Linked DNA regions of Homo sapiens: all the other regions are linked to region 1. Evidence: promoter capture Hi-C in 16 types of primary human blood cells and fetal thymus (Javierre and others, 2016). All regions are on one chromosome and are shown on one strand. Each heading gives the region's core, a stretch centred on a gene start or on the middle of the fragment in contact. The rest is flanking DNA. Distances are from core to core; before and after follow the strand shown. Region 1 holds the start of CLU (clusterin). Region 2 has its middle 160 kb from the start of DPYSL2. Region 3 has its middle 170 kb from the start of ADRA1A.

Region 1 (4,097 bases), core at 883-3,382:
GATTGACCACTTTTTAAAGTACTTATGAATCACTGCAGGGCTGGTTATAATGTTGGTTCTGAGACTGCTTTTCCAGCCAGTCTGCAGGTGATATGGATGCTGCTGATCCAAGGAATGTTCTAGAACCGTGACTGCACAGCCGACCTCCTTTCCTTTGCTCGGACTCACCTCCCCCCTCATCTCCTCTGCCTCCTGGGAGCCTGGCTGCCAGCTGCCCTGGGTGGAAGAGCCATGCCAAGGCCAAGGCCCTCGAGTCCCCAGCACTACCACACAGCCTCATTCTCCCTAAGAAGGCTTAAACCACTTGGCCTTGCTCCTTCTACCAGAAAAGGCCGGTTCTGTGGACAAAGGGGCTGCTCAGGGGAAGAGGAGGAGGAGAAGATGGCGGGGGGTGGGGGGCAGGGGGGGCGGGGGGAGCAGGCAGACTTTGGGAGCAACTCCCCTCCAGGCACACCCTCCTGGGAACTTTGAACTGAGCAGCTTCCCAAAACGTTTCCAAGCAGGGCAGGGCTGGAGGCTTAAGAAAATCAATGACCTGGCAGGGCGCATTGATTCACACCTGTCACCCCAGCACTTTGGGAGGCCAAGACAGGCGGATTACTTGAGATCAGGAGTTCGAGACCAGCCTGGCCAAGGTGGTGAAACCATGTCTCTACTAAAAATACAAAAATTAGCCGGATGTAGCAGCATGCGCCTGTAGTCCCAGCTACTCAGAGGCTGAGGCATGAGAACTGCTTGAACCCGGATGGCGGAGGTTGCAGTGAGCCGAGATGGCGCTACTCTACTCCAGCCTGGGCAACAGAGTGAGACTTGGTCTCAGGAAAAAAAAAAAAAAAGAGAGAAAAGAAAGAAAGAAAATCAATGACTGTGAACAGGGAGCCGTGGGGAGGATGGGAAGACAGTGAAGAGGGCACACAGATGGTGAGGGTTTCAATCCCAAAGCCCCGGCTCCTATCTGCTTCTTCAAATGGAGAAAACTAAACCAAAAGGAAAATAAGAAAAATAATCACCGGTAATTCATATCACCCAGAGGCAAAGGTTAGCACTGTGGTATATTTCCTTCTGTCTTCCATGCAGTTTATACAAGATTCTTCACATTCACCATCTTCAAATATTCTTTAAGGGCATACTTTTATGGCTATGTAATACTCCACTTACTCACGGACCTAAGTTTATTTTACCATTCTCACAAGATTGGCCATTTCAGTTGTGCCCAATGCTCCACTATTATTATAACTTAACATTTTCATGGGCATCTTTTTTTATATAGTATCTGTACTTTCCTTTAAATTCCTAACCTCTCCGTTTAAAAAATAATAATAAAAATCATATTTTTTTTAACTAGGTCCAGAAATTCTGGAAGGTCAAGAGGCTTTGGCTCGAATCCCAATTCTGATACTTATTTGCTGTTTAGTGTTGGCACCAGTCCTAAACCTCTCCAGGCCTCAGATTATCATCTGTAAAATGAGACTGTGGAATCAGAGGTCTGAGGCCTGGTGGATCTTGTGTGACTTTTCTCTGATGCACCTCAGATGCATTAGGAGGCAGAAAAAGTCGGATTTCGGTGGTTGCAGCATATACTGAAATCCGCAGCCTCATACTTACAGGCAACAGTGTCCAGAGAGCTAGAGAATTTAGAAGAAAACTAGATGACTCATGCATGCAAGCCGAAAGCCACAACTGAGAGATCCGCATCTTCGCAGAGGATATGCTGCAGGAAGGAGCTCGGTGCAGGCCAGCTCTGTCACCTGCTAGCCTGGGTCTCCCGCAACGCGGCAGGTCTCCAGGTCTCAGTTTCCCCATCTTTGCGAAAGGATGATCATTATATCTGTTCTATTTACCCCCCCACCACAGAATTGTGGTTGGAGCTCGTGCTCTCAGGCGGCGGTTGCGCCGGGGCCCCTGGCTCAGCTGCCTGGTGATGGGGCTCCGGCCACCTCCCCTCCCTGGCTTCCTGGGCTCCGTCGAAAGCGCAGGGGTTGTGACTGCGAGCTGTGTCATCCCTCTCTGCCTGGCTGCCATCCCCTGCCCGCCCATCCGTCCTGGTGTGGCTCTGCTCAAGGGTAGGGAAGACGGGGACATCTCACCGGTCAGCGGCACCCTGTGCCCGCGCGCTCCTCCTGGCGACGCCGCGTTGTGGGCACTGGGAGGCGCCGTATTTATAGCGCTCTGCTCGCGCACACACCCCCTTTGGGGCTGGCTGCAAACCTGCATGACTCACGCCCAAAGAATGCCGCGGAAAGCAAGGGGAGCTTTCTGGAAGCCGGGAGGTGGGGGCCGGTGCAGCACCGGGCTGGGGGCGCCGGGGGGCGCATCATCACCACGAATAGCTGTGCTGGCTCCAGGAGAGACCCTGAGGTGCGGCCGCTCGGCGCTTCCAGTAGGGAAGAGCCTGAACTCGCGTGCCCATCTGGGAGCCCCTCTCACGCGGTTAGCCCGGCTGTCTGTCCCAGTCCAAGACACAATCTCACAGTTCCCTGGCCCTACTGACCTTAACCTTCACATTACACAAGCGCCACTTCTCTTGACCCATTTAAATAGTAAAGAGTCAGACATAATGAGGGTGGGATGGAGAGGGGCCTTGTGCTGGAGAAGAGAGCACAGGAAGTATTGAAACGCCTACTCCTGGAAACATCACACTGATGGGGGTCCCTGGACTGACCCGCCAGGCCTGGAGGAAACAGAATTGTGTTTAGGAGTGATCAGAGCAGATATGTGGAGAGCCAGAAGGCCTCTCCGGGGTCCTTGATCCACAGAGCTTAAGCAATCACTGTCCCCATCTTTTTGGAACCCAACCAAGCAGGGTGGGCTTCATGGCTGTGGGACCCTTGCAGATCCACGTTTGGTTTAATGGGCTACTGTGACGGTCTTGAAATTCTTCATAGTTTTTGAACCAGTGGACCTGAATTTTTATTTTGCCCTGAGCCTTCCCAGTTAGGAAATCAGATCTGTGTCCAGAGGGGTTTGCTGGTCTCCAACTGCTGGAGTTCCTTCTGCTGAGAGCAGGGAGAATCTCCTGTCGCAGCCACCCCTCCCCCTGGCAAGGAGGGGCAAATCTAGGAACCCTGGAGGTGCAGCTACTTCTTGGGGAAGAAAGTGAGCTGCCCATTTTGGAGCCAGGGATGTTTAAGCCCCAGGAGAGAAGTCAAGGGGCTGACAGCTGGGGCAATGGGTGGACAGGGCGGGTACAGGCAGCCCCACTGTGGGTGGCAGACTTTGAAAACCATGTGAAACAAAGGGGCTTAAAGGAGAGCTGCGTGGTCAGGGGCTGAGTTTTCCAGTTCAGGATCAGGACTATGGAGGCACAACATGGAGGCCCAGTCCCTTGCTTGCCCAACGTCCAGGGGCCACTAGGACCCCAGTCCTTTTCAGGAGGCAGCCTCGGGGAATCTTCAAGGCCCATGACTAAGTGGGAGAACCCAGACCAGGTCCATGAAAGTCTGATTACAGTCCTAGGTGTGCCCCTAGACACTGGGTGACCTCGGACTAATCACTTTGCCCTTGGGCCTCAGTTTCTTCCATCTGGACGATGAGGAATCGGGAATGGATCATCTCCACGGCTCCCTGCAACCTAACCTAGAGCCAAGCCAAGTATTAGAAGGCCATTAACCCAGAAGAAGAAAAAAATGTCCCAGAAGAGGCTACACTTTATTTTTCTTAAAAAAAAAATGTCTAATTATCAGTAACAGCTACATTTTCTGTGGACAGTGCCTGCTCCTTATCAGTGCCTGCTCCTTATCAATACCTGAGGTTAGAAGAATTGTTTTTGAGCTCGCTCCTTGTAACTTTTCTGTTCTGTAGCTCCCTCAGCATCCGGAACAGAAGGCATAAATCTAGTTATATTTTTAAAAATTAGACTTTGGAGGTCAGTCAGTGAGATCCGCCTTAGCCAGCTGAATTAGGGGAAGGGAAGAGAGGAAGAAAGGACTTGGGAGAAAATAGCATGATTCACAGATTCACAGTCATGACTGTGATCCCTTGGGAATAATTACTTGATTATTCCCACTACTAAGCAAACAAGGTTCAGAAGGTCAAACTTTGAGGAAAGAAAAGTGTAAATTTTGAAAGCGCCATAAATGCATCACCAGATGTTTCAT
Region 2 (4,097 bases), core at 428-2,927, 940 kb before region 1:
CACTGTAAATTACCAGTGACTGGTCAAATTTGTGACCATTCTTTATCTCCTTCCCTCCTGTCCCTGAATTTGGCTCTCGTACCCAAGCCTGGCTTTCGTATCACACTGGATGTATGGGGAATGAGGCTCAGCACTGTCACTGCATTTGTGTTATTTCATCTGATCAGTGTTGTGATGAACTATAAACCACAAGGACTCAAGGGATCCCCCTGCCTCAGCCTCCTGAGTAGCTGGGATTACAGGTATTATGATACCCGAAATAGGTAATATATTAGCTGCCTATATACTATTCATGCTGATTCATTTATCTGTACTAATTAAGACTTAGCACCTTAGGTGAATGGAACATAGACCAAACAAGCTTTTTAAAATAACGATTTAAAACAAAAGAAAAGTAATGTATGTTAAATGTAAGAACATATTTAAAAAGTAAAGTATCAGCATAATATTGGCTTCCTATAATGATTTGGGATGTGTTCTTTCTTTTTTAATTTAATGCAAGAATGTATTCAATGTATTATTTCCTCCTTAACTGCTTGACTGGTTGAATTGACCATTGAAACCATTTGGACCTAGAGTTCTCTCTGTGGGAATGTTTTTAAACTACAAATTCAATTTCTTTAATAGGCATAGGGCTATTTAGTTTATCTGTTTCTTCTTGAGTAAGCTTTGGTAGTTTGTGTCTTCCATGGAATTTGTCCATTTCGTCTGAGTTGTTGAATTTATTGGCATAGAATTGTTAATCATATTTCCTTATTATCTTCTTAATATTAATAGAATTTTCAGTGATGTCATCCTCTCTTTCCCAATGTTAGTAATTTGCATCATCTCCCTTTTTCTCCTTATCACAATGGTTAGTTTATCAATTTCATTGATCTGAAAAAACTAGCTAATAGTTTAGTTGATTTTCTCTATTGTTTTACTGTTTTGCATTTAATTGATACTTCACTCTGATTTTCATAATTTCTTTTCTTCTATTTAGGACGAATTTAATTTGCTCTCCTTTTTCTAGTTTTCTGAAGTGGAATCTGATGTATTTTTTCTTTTCCAATGAAGGCATTTAGTGCTATAAGTTTCACTGAAGTTACCGTATTCATTTTCTTTTTACCCATGAGTTATTGAGGAATATGCTATTAAGCTTCGAAGTATTTGGGAATGATCCAGAGATTTTTCTGTTACTGACTTCTAACTTAAAGTCATTGTAGTTAGAGAACTTACATGGTGTGAACTTAAATAACCTTAAATTTATGGAGACATATTTTATGAGCCTAAATATGATCCATCTTGAAAAATGTTCCAAATGCACTTGAGAAAAATGAGTATTCTGCTGAGAGGGAATGGAGGGTTCTATAAATGTCGGTAGGCCAAGTTGGTTGATGGAGTTCTTGAAATATCCTAATGTCCACAGTGATTATTCATCTACTTGTTATATCAAGCCATACCAGCCTATTAGCTGAGAATGACTGGATCTGAAATTTTAGGACAGTGTCAAAGTGGAGCCAGCAGCATCATTATTTGGTTTTCCACATTGTTGGGAGACCATCCCTGTAACATATTCCAAAGCAAATTTCTATAAAATGCCAGTCTGGGGAGATGCTCTGTGGAAACAATGTGATATAGGTCAAATGGGTATGAAGCACTTGGGGAGTTAGAATACATATATGAAATCTTGTTTAATTTGGTTAATTATTTCTCAAATTTATTTTATCATAGCATCATTTTTTTACGTGACACTTATAAAATCCTTCAGAACTAAAATTATTTGGGATACATTTAGAGAAATATGTAGATATGGCTAGTATCTAGTAGGTACTAGATACATTTCTAGCTTTTGTGGTCACATAGATACTTTTTATTTGTAAAAGTATTATTACATTCCTATTTTAGTAAGTCCTTTTTTTAAAGAGCAGGTACCACATTTTAACAAATCTTAATGGGATGAACTTGTGGTTTTCATTTGCCACTACTGAAGTGACAAATGATATTAATTCATGGATATTATTTTCTAATGAAGCTGATATCAATTTGTGTAGAGTTGTATTTAGAATGTTAGATCAATATCTATAGTTGAGACAGGTCAAAGGGTTTTTGAATGTGTATGTTAGTTTTGTCAGGCTTTGACACTTAAGGCTAGGGTGGCTTCTTAAATTAATTAGGATTGTTTCCATGTTTGTGGGCTGCAGAATAGTTTATATAACATAAAAATTATCTGTTTGAAAGCTTAAAAAGACTTGCCCATAAAACTGTCTGAGCCCAGAACCATAATTAGATTATAAATACGTGTAATTAAGGGAATGTTTGGTTTGTTTTATGTGTAAAGAGTGGAGGAGAGTTAAATACTTGACATGTGGGAGAGGCTTCCTTAAAGTAATAGAGCCCCTTGACACCAATTACAAGGAAACATGTGCTTCCTCTGTGTTCCCTCCCTCCCTTCCTCCCTCCCCTCCTCCTCCCTCCCCTCCTCCTCCTCCTCTTCCTCCTCTTCCTCCTCCTCCTCCTTCTTCTTCTTCTCTCTCCCTCTCTCCCTCCCTCTCTCTCTCTCTCTTTCTTTCTTTCGTCTCACTCTGTCATCCAGGCTGGAGGGCACTGGCACGATCTTGGCTCACTGCAACCTCTGCCTCCTGGGTTCAAGTGATTCTCCTGCCTCAGCCTCCCAAGTAGCTGGGATTACAGGTGTCCCCCAAACATGCCTGGCTAATTTTTTGTATTTTTAGTAGAGAAGGGGTTTCACTACATTGGCCAGGCTGGTCTCGAACTCCTGACTTCAGGTGATCCACCCGCCTCGGCCTCCCAAAGTGCTGGGATTACAGGTGTAAGCCACTGCGCCCGGCCTGACTTAGGGTTTTCTTTCACCAGGGAGATAAACACAGGATTGATCAGGTATAGCTTTATGTAATTGATCTAAGCAATACTTTGACCAAGACAGAAGCCCCTGGCTACATCTTTACCAGCAACAGAAGAAATTAAACCCTTCTTAGTCAGGACTAGAGAACTTGACACTGTCACAACGTGAGTAAAACTGAGAGAGGCTGATGGGAGCAGAGCATCCCATCTATGCAGGAGAATCCCTGTCCCGGAGCAAGCAGGAGGCTGATGGGAACAGAGTATCCCATCTATGCAAGAGAATCCCTGCCTTGAGACAAGCAGGACCAGCATGCACCAAGGTGCATGAAATTCCTGCGATAAACATCCAGTTATCCATGTTAAGACGAGCACCTTGTCATCACCCAGCCAAGATGTTCTTCTTTACGGGCAAGTCAATTCCTGTTGCCTGTTTCTTTTCTTCCTTTCTTTTTTTTTTTGAGACAGAGCTTCACTCCTGTTGCCCTGGCTGGAATGCAATGGCGTGATCTCTGCTCACCACAACCTCTGCCTCCTGGGTTCAAGTGATTCTTATGCCTCAGCCTCCTGAGTAGGGATTACAGGCATGTGCCACCAAGCCCGGCTAATTTTATATTTTTAGCTGAGACAGGGTTTCTCCATGTTGGTCAGGCTGGTCTCGAACTCCAGACCTCAGGTGATCTGCCCGCCTCGGCCTCCCAAAGTGCTGGGATTACAGGCAAGAGCCACTGCGCCCGGCCTCCTGTTGCCTGTTTCTTAGGGTCCCCTTTGTGTATTTGAAAATTAAAACATGAACCTGGGGCCTTTAGAGTGAGAATATCTCCTGGCTTCAGGGTTGTGACTTAACCTCTTAGTAGCCATCTCTATTTTATTTTATTTTTAAGCATGTCATCACTTTTAGGTGTGCAGTTCAATGGCATAAAGTATATTCACACTCTTGTACAACCATCACCACCACCCATTTCCAGAACTTTTTTCATCTTGTGAAACTGAAACTCTGTCCTCATTAAGCACCAGCTCCCCCTTCCCCCTGGCCCCCATTCCTGGCAATCACCACTCCACTTTGTCTGTATGATTTTGACTACTCTAGCTATCTCATATTAGTGGACTCATGCAGCATTGTCCTTCTGTGATTGGCTTATTTAATTTAGCATAATATCTTCCAGGTTCATCCATGTTATAGTATGTGTCAGAATCTCCTTTATCAAGGCCGAATAACATTTCATTGTGAGTATACACCACATTTTGTTTATCTG
Region 3 (4,097 bases), core at 569-3,068, 920 kb before region 1:
ATCTAAGGAAGTCACTATTTCCTGTGCATCAGGTCTCATCTGCATAACACTGCCAATATAGTGGACCAGTATGATTTTTGTAGGATGTAAAGACTGTTAAGATCTCTACTCTGAGGCAAAAAAAAAAAAAAAAAAAAAACCCAAAAACTTGAAAGTGTACTGTTGATTCTGCCAGTTAAAACAAATGGCTTCTGATGCTCCTTGGAAATGGGTGGAAAGAGAACTAAGCACCTGGCACATTGGGTGCTACACACCAGATGCAATGAGTTGTGCTGATTTGCTCCAGGAAAGTGTTGGCATCTGGAGCAGCAGCTGCAAGAGAAGGCAGCATCTGCTTAGGTTTACAATAATCCATGTTCTCCAAGATCCATCTGCTCCTGACAGACTCAACAGATCTGTAAAATGAGCAAAGTGATAAGTATCACCACTTCTTCCTTCGAGTCTTTGATGGTGGCCTTAATTTCTGCAGATTCTCCTAGGGATATAGTAAAGCTCTGGGTTTCTATCCTAGCAGAGGGGATGTTCCAAGGCCTTTCTGCTAAGATAGAAAGTAGTGCTCATCGTAGGGATCAGAGAGCCAACGTGGGCATTCCTCATACCACATTGAGTGTGGTGACTCTGTGCATCCGGGACATGGAGAAGTGATAGTAGGGATGTCCTTGTACCTACTGGGCCTGCTGTGATTTGGACTTGAGCTAAAACTCCATTTGTCAGCTGACTATTAGACCATTCCTCCCACTTTGACTAGTAGATCACATGGATGTTTTGGGTCCCTGGGAGCAAGCATCAGTTCCAAGCTAGGGTCTTGTAATGCACAAAAGGTCCAGAGATTCTTCTTTCTAGTGCATGATCACCATTTCTTAAGGTTGCATACCCTTTGGGAGAAGGCAAGGAGCAGCACATACTTGTGACAGGGTTGCAGGGGCCTTCCTTAAGGTGACTTGGTCTCTTCAATGAAGGGTCTGTGAAAGGGCTTGTGTCTAGAAACTGGAGGAAAGTTTTTCCATTGGAGTGATGCAAGACTCCCCATTGTGGCGACTCTGCAGACCAAGAGCTATGTTAGTAGGCTGTCCATGCACTGCATTCCCAGGGACACTGTGATACATGAGCCACCTTGTACCAAAGATCTGTGCGGATCCCATTCACCAAGTCGCTCCTGCTGCTCGTCACTCTAGATGTGCCCACCTTGTCTCTGACAGTTAAGTGCTGCCTTTGGCCTCTGTTGGTCATCTTCCTCCCTGAAATCAGGGAGCCCATCTCAGTAGAGGCATCCTACAGGGTCACACTGGGATCCGGGAGATGGGCCCCAGAGAGCTTTGCTAGGACACTGCTGCTTTGCCCACTGCTATGATTCTCAAGGTCGTAGTCAAGAGAATGCCCTCTTCGGGGATGAAGAAGGGGTGAGGCTTGGTGTACAGGTTGCGTATGATAAATCCAGCCCAACATTACCATATCCATAAGCTTTTGAACTCTGTCCTTTACATTATACCAGGAAAGTTCTGGAATCCCAACCTTGGTGAATATAGGCTACCACTAAGTTATAATCTCCCAGCCAAGCAGACCATTAGAACTAATCTCAATTACAGTAGCTAACATGTTCAATCCCACATGTCCAGCGGTTTGACCCCTATGTACTGATAGGGGTCTTAGTACTACTTAGGGCTACTTAGTACTTAGTACTTAGTACACTTAGCCCTGTCTCATGCTGTGTCCTCTCCCCCTTGGTCCACCATCCCTACAGTTTACTCCTACACACGTTGCAAAGTTTAGAGGAGCACAATTTGCATTCTATTCCTTGGCCAAGAGAAAAAGGCCGGGGAGTCTTAGTTGGAGTCCACGAGGCTGCTGGCTGACGACTAATCGAGTAGCATGGTAATCCTTTGTTTTACTGCCTTATATATGTTTTGCGTTTATAAGTCCAATTTACAGAAATGCCTCACAGGGTGAATGAAAGTGAATTTCTTGGAGGTCCCATGAGGACTGAGTGAGCCACCTCCTGCACCTGTGCTCTCTGCCTGGCCGGCGAGAACAACATCTAGAGGCTTCTTTGAAGGCTCACCTTAGTTAGGGCTGTTGGACAAACAAAATATGTCAATGTCTTCATTTGAGAGGCCACAGAACTTTGAAAACAATTTTTTAAGGAGACTTGAATGGAGTAGCTGGTGTGTACTTTGCAAAGCTTTGGAGAAGCTTTGAAGCTGGCCCTAAACAGTGCAGGCCAACACATTGAAGGCTTCTTTGAATGCTGGGTGTCCAGGGCTGTTAATGCCTTACTTGCACCTGCTATGAGGCTCAAAATAAAAACAACAACAACAAAATGAAAACAAAAAGTAGATCTCTTGATTAAAGGAAAATGGAAAGCCATTGGTGTCAACATGTTGATTTCAGTCCTCATATCTGACAGTAATATTTGTATACTTCTGTCTATACTTGTTAAATCTCTAATAAATACATTTTCTTGCTAAAAACTTATACATAGCAAATTCTTACCAGTTTATTAGTTAAAATTGGACTTCCTGTAGGCAAAGGTAAGAATTCTTTGCAATGTCAAGGAGAACCGAGACACTTCACCCCTCAAAATGTGCTATTGCATTAATGCGGTCAGGTTGGAAGCATTTGAGAAGCCTATTGCAAACCTCAGCTTGTTTATAAGAATTTTACAGAACTCTAGTTCATACAAGCTCATACAAGTCATACAAGCTCTATTGCTTAATTCACTTCCTAGACAGTGAAAGTGAAGTTTGTAACCATCTGTCAGAAAGTGATACAGTTAGGAAAATGTAGTTATATGTCAGCTAACTCCATTTCACTCAACAAACCGTATGATTAACACAGGTGTGTTCACAGGAAACACAGTGAGTGTTGGTCTTTGCTTAATGGAGTCTCAAGAAGACATTTTCAATGCTACAGGAGGCCTTTTCTTTCCCCTGCTAGAAAATTCATAGTCTTGTGACATTTTTTGGCAGTATGTGAAAATACAAGGAATTGATGGTGTGGATTCCTTGACACTTTAGGGAGGACTGCAAAGGGTTCAGAGCTTTGCTTCTAGTTTTTGATGGCATGAGATCCCATTTAGAAGCTCCTCTGAATGCTCACTGTAGCCAGCTTTTAAGTACAATGAGTTTGTTTGCTAACTATTATTATTTTGATATTAAAAAAATCAAACGGCTACTATTGGATTGCTTGCTTCTGTGGATCGCTAGGACTTTCAAGTAGAACTTAAATTCCAGTTCTAGAAATCCAGATAAATATTTAGAAGCTTCTGTGCATATTTGTGGAAGTCAGGGATGCGTTCAAGTTGGAGTGCACCAACAAACTCCTCCATTTCTTCAGCCAAAAGCCCCTGCCTTCCTCATAGAAAGTACACCTCCATGGGACACCTGAAATGGATTCCTTTCAACTTGAAGCTCTGTGAAATCAACGTTTGGAAGTGTCTGTGCTTGGTGACTATGCTTATGGCTGAAGTGCAACAAAATATTATAGTAATTTTTGTCTGCTTTACTGACACTTACACCTCTGACAGCACTTAGTTTGTGAGAACTGGAGTTGGGGGCTCATTAATAAATATTAACTGTTGGAGGAGAGTTCAGAGTTTCTCTCTACGCTCTCTCAGCTTGGTAAGGGCTGATTAGATTTAATGATACAGACTGGGCCACATTTGCTCTCGGGTGGCTTTCCTCTATGTTCATAGAGTCTCTCTGGGGTGAATCCTATGACCTGTCTGTGAGAACCAGTTGAAAGCACAAGAGATTCCGGTACTAAACATTGATAACAGTGTCAGCAACCTTCCTCTGTCAATGCTGTAAGGCCAGGGTTGAAATTTAGCCAAGTTTTATGCTTGTTGATTCCTGCCCCTCACTACTTACTCCAATTTCACTTCTTAAAAATGTGGTCACTATCCAATATTCTTTTTTTTTTTTTTTTTTTTGAGATGAATCTCGCCCTGTCCTCCAGGCTGGAGTGCGATGGTGCGATCTTGGCTCACTGCAACCTCCACCTCCTGGGTTCAAATGATTCTCCTGACTCAGCCTTCCCAGTATCTGAGATTACAGGCACCCGCCACCATGCCCAGCTATTTTTTTTATTTTTTATTTTTT

Evidence for each region. The method cuts DNA at HindIII sites, captures the fragments that hold promoters and counts their contacts. A CHiCAGO score of 5 or more calls a contact.
Region 2: a contact is called between a fragment that was not itself captured here and the fragment with the promoter of CLU in region 1, in 1 of 17 cell types (neutrophils). The highest score is 5.4, in neutrophils.
Region 3: a contact is called between a fragment that was not itself captured here and the fragment with the promoter of CLU in region 1, in 2 of 17 cell types (naive B cells and M0 macrophages). The highest score is 6.6, in naive B cells.

The regions. Positions count from the first base shown.
Region 1 is chr8:27,612,568-27,616,664 of GRCh38, forward strand. CLU (clusterin) reads right to left here and starts at 2,133. Exons shown (of 9, transcript NM_001831.4): 1 at 2,088-2,133. RefSeq lists silencers at 546-731, 2,287-2,376 and enhancers at 1,765-2,264, 3,221-3,721, 4,012-4,097. The HindIII fragment of the contact is 8,616 bases long and covers 1-4,097 here.
Region 2 is chr8:26,671,467-26,675,563 of GRCh38, forward strand. No RefSeq gene overlaps it. Among named protein-coding and RNA genes, the nearest start is that of DPYSL2, 160 kb to the left of the region's middle. The HindIII fragment of the contact is 1,082 bases long and covers 1,137-2,218 here.
Region 3 is chr8:26,696,059-26,700,155 of GRCh38, forward strand. No RefSeq gene overlaps it. Among named protein-coding and RNA genes, the nearest start is that of ADRA1A, 170 kb to the right of the region's middle. The HindIII fragment of the contact is 718 bases long and covers 1,460-2,177 here.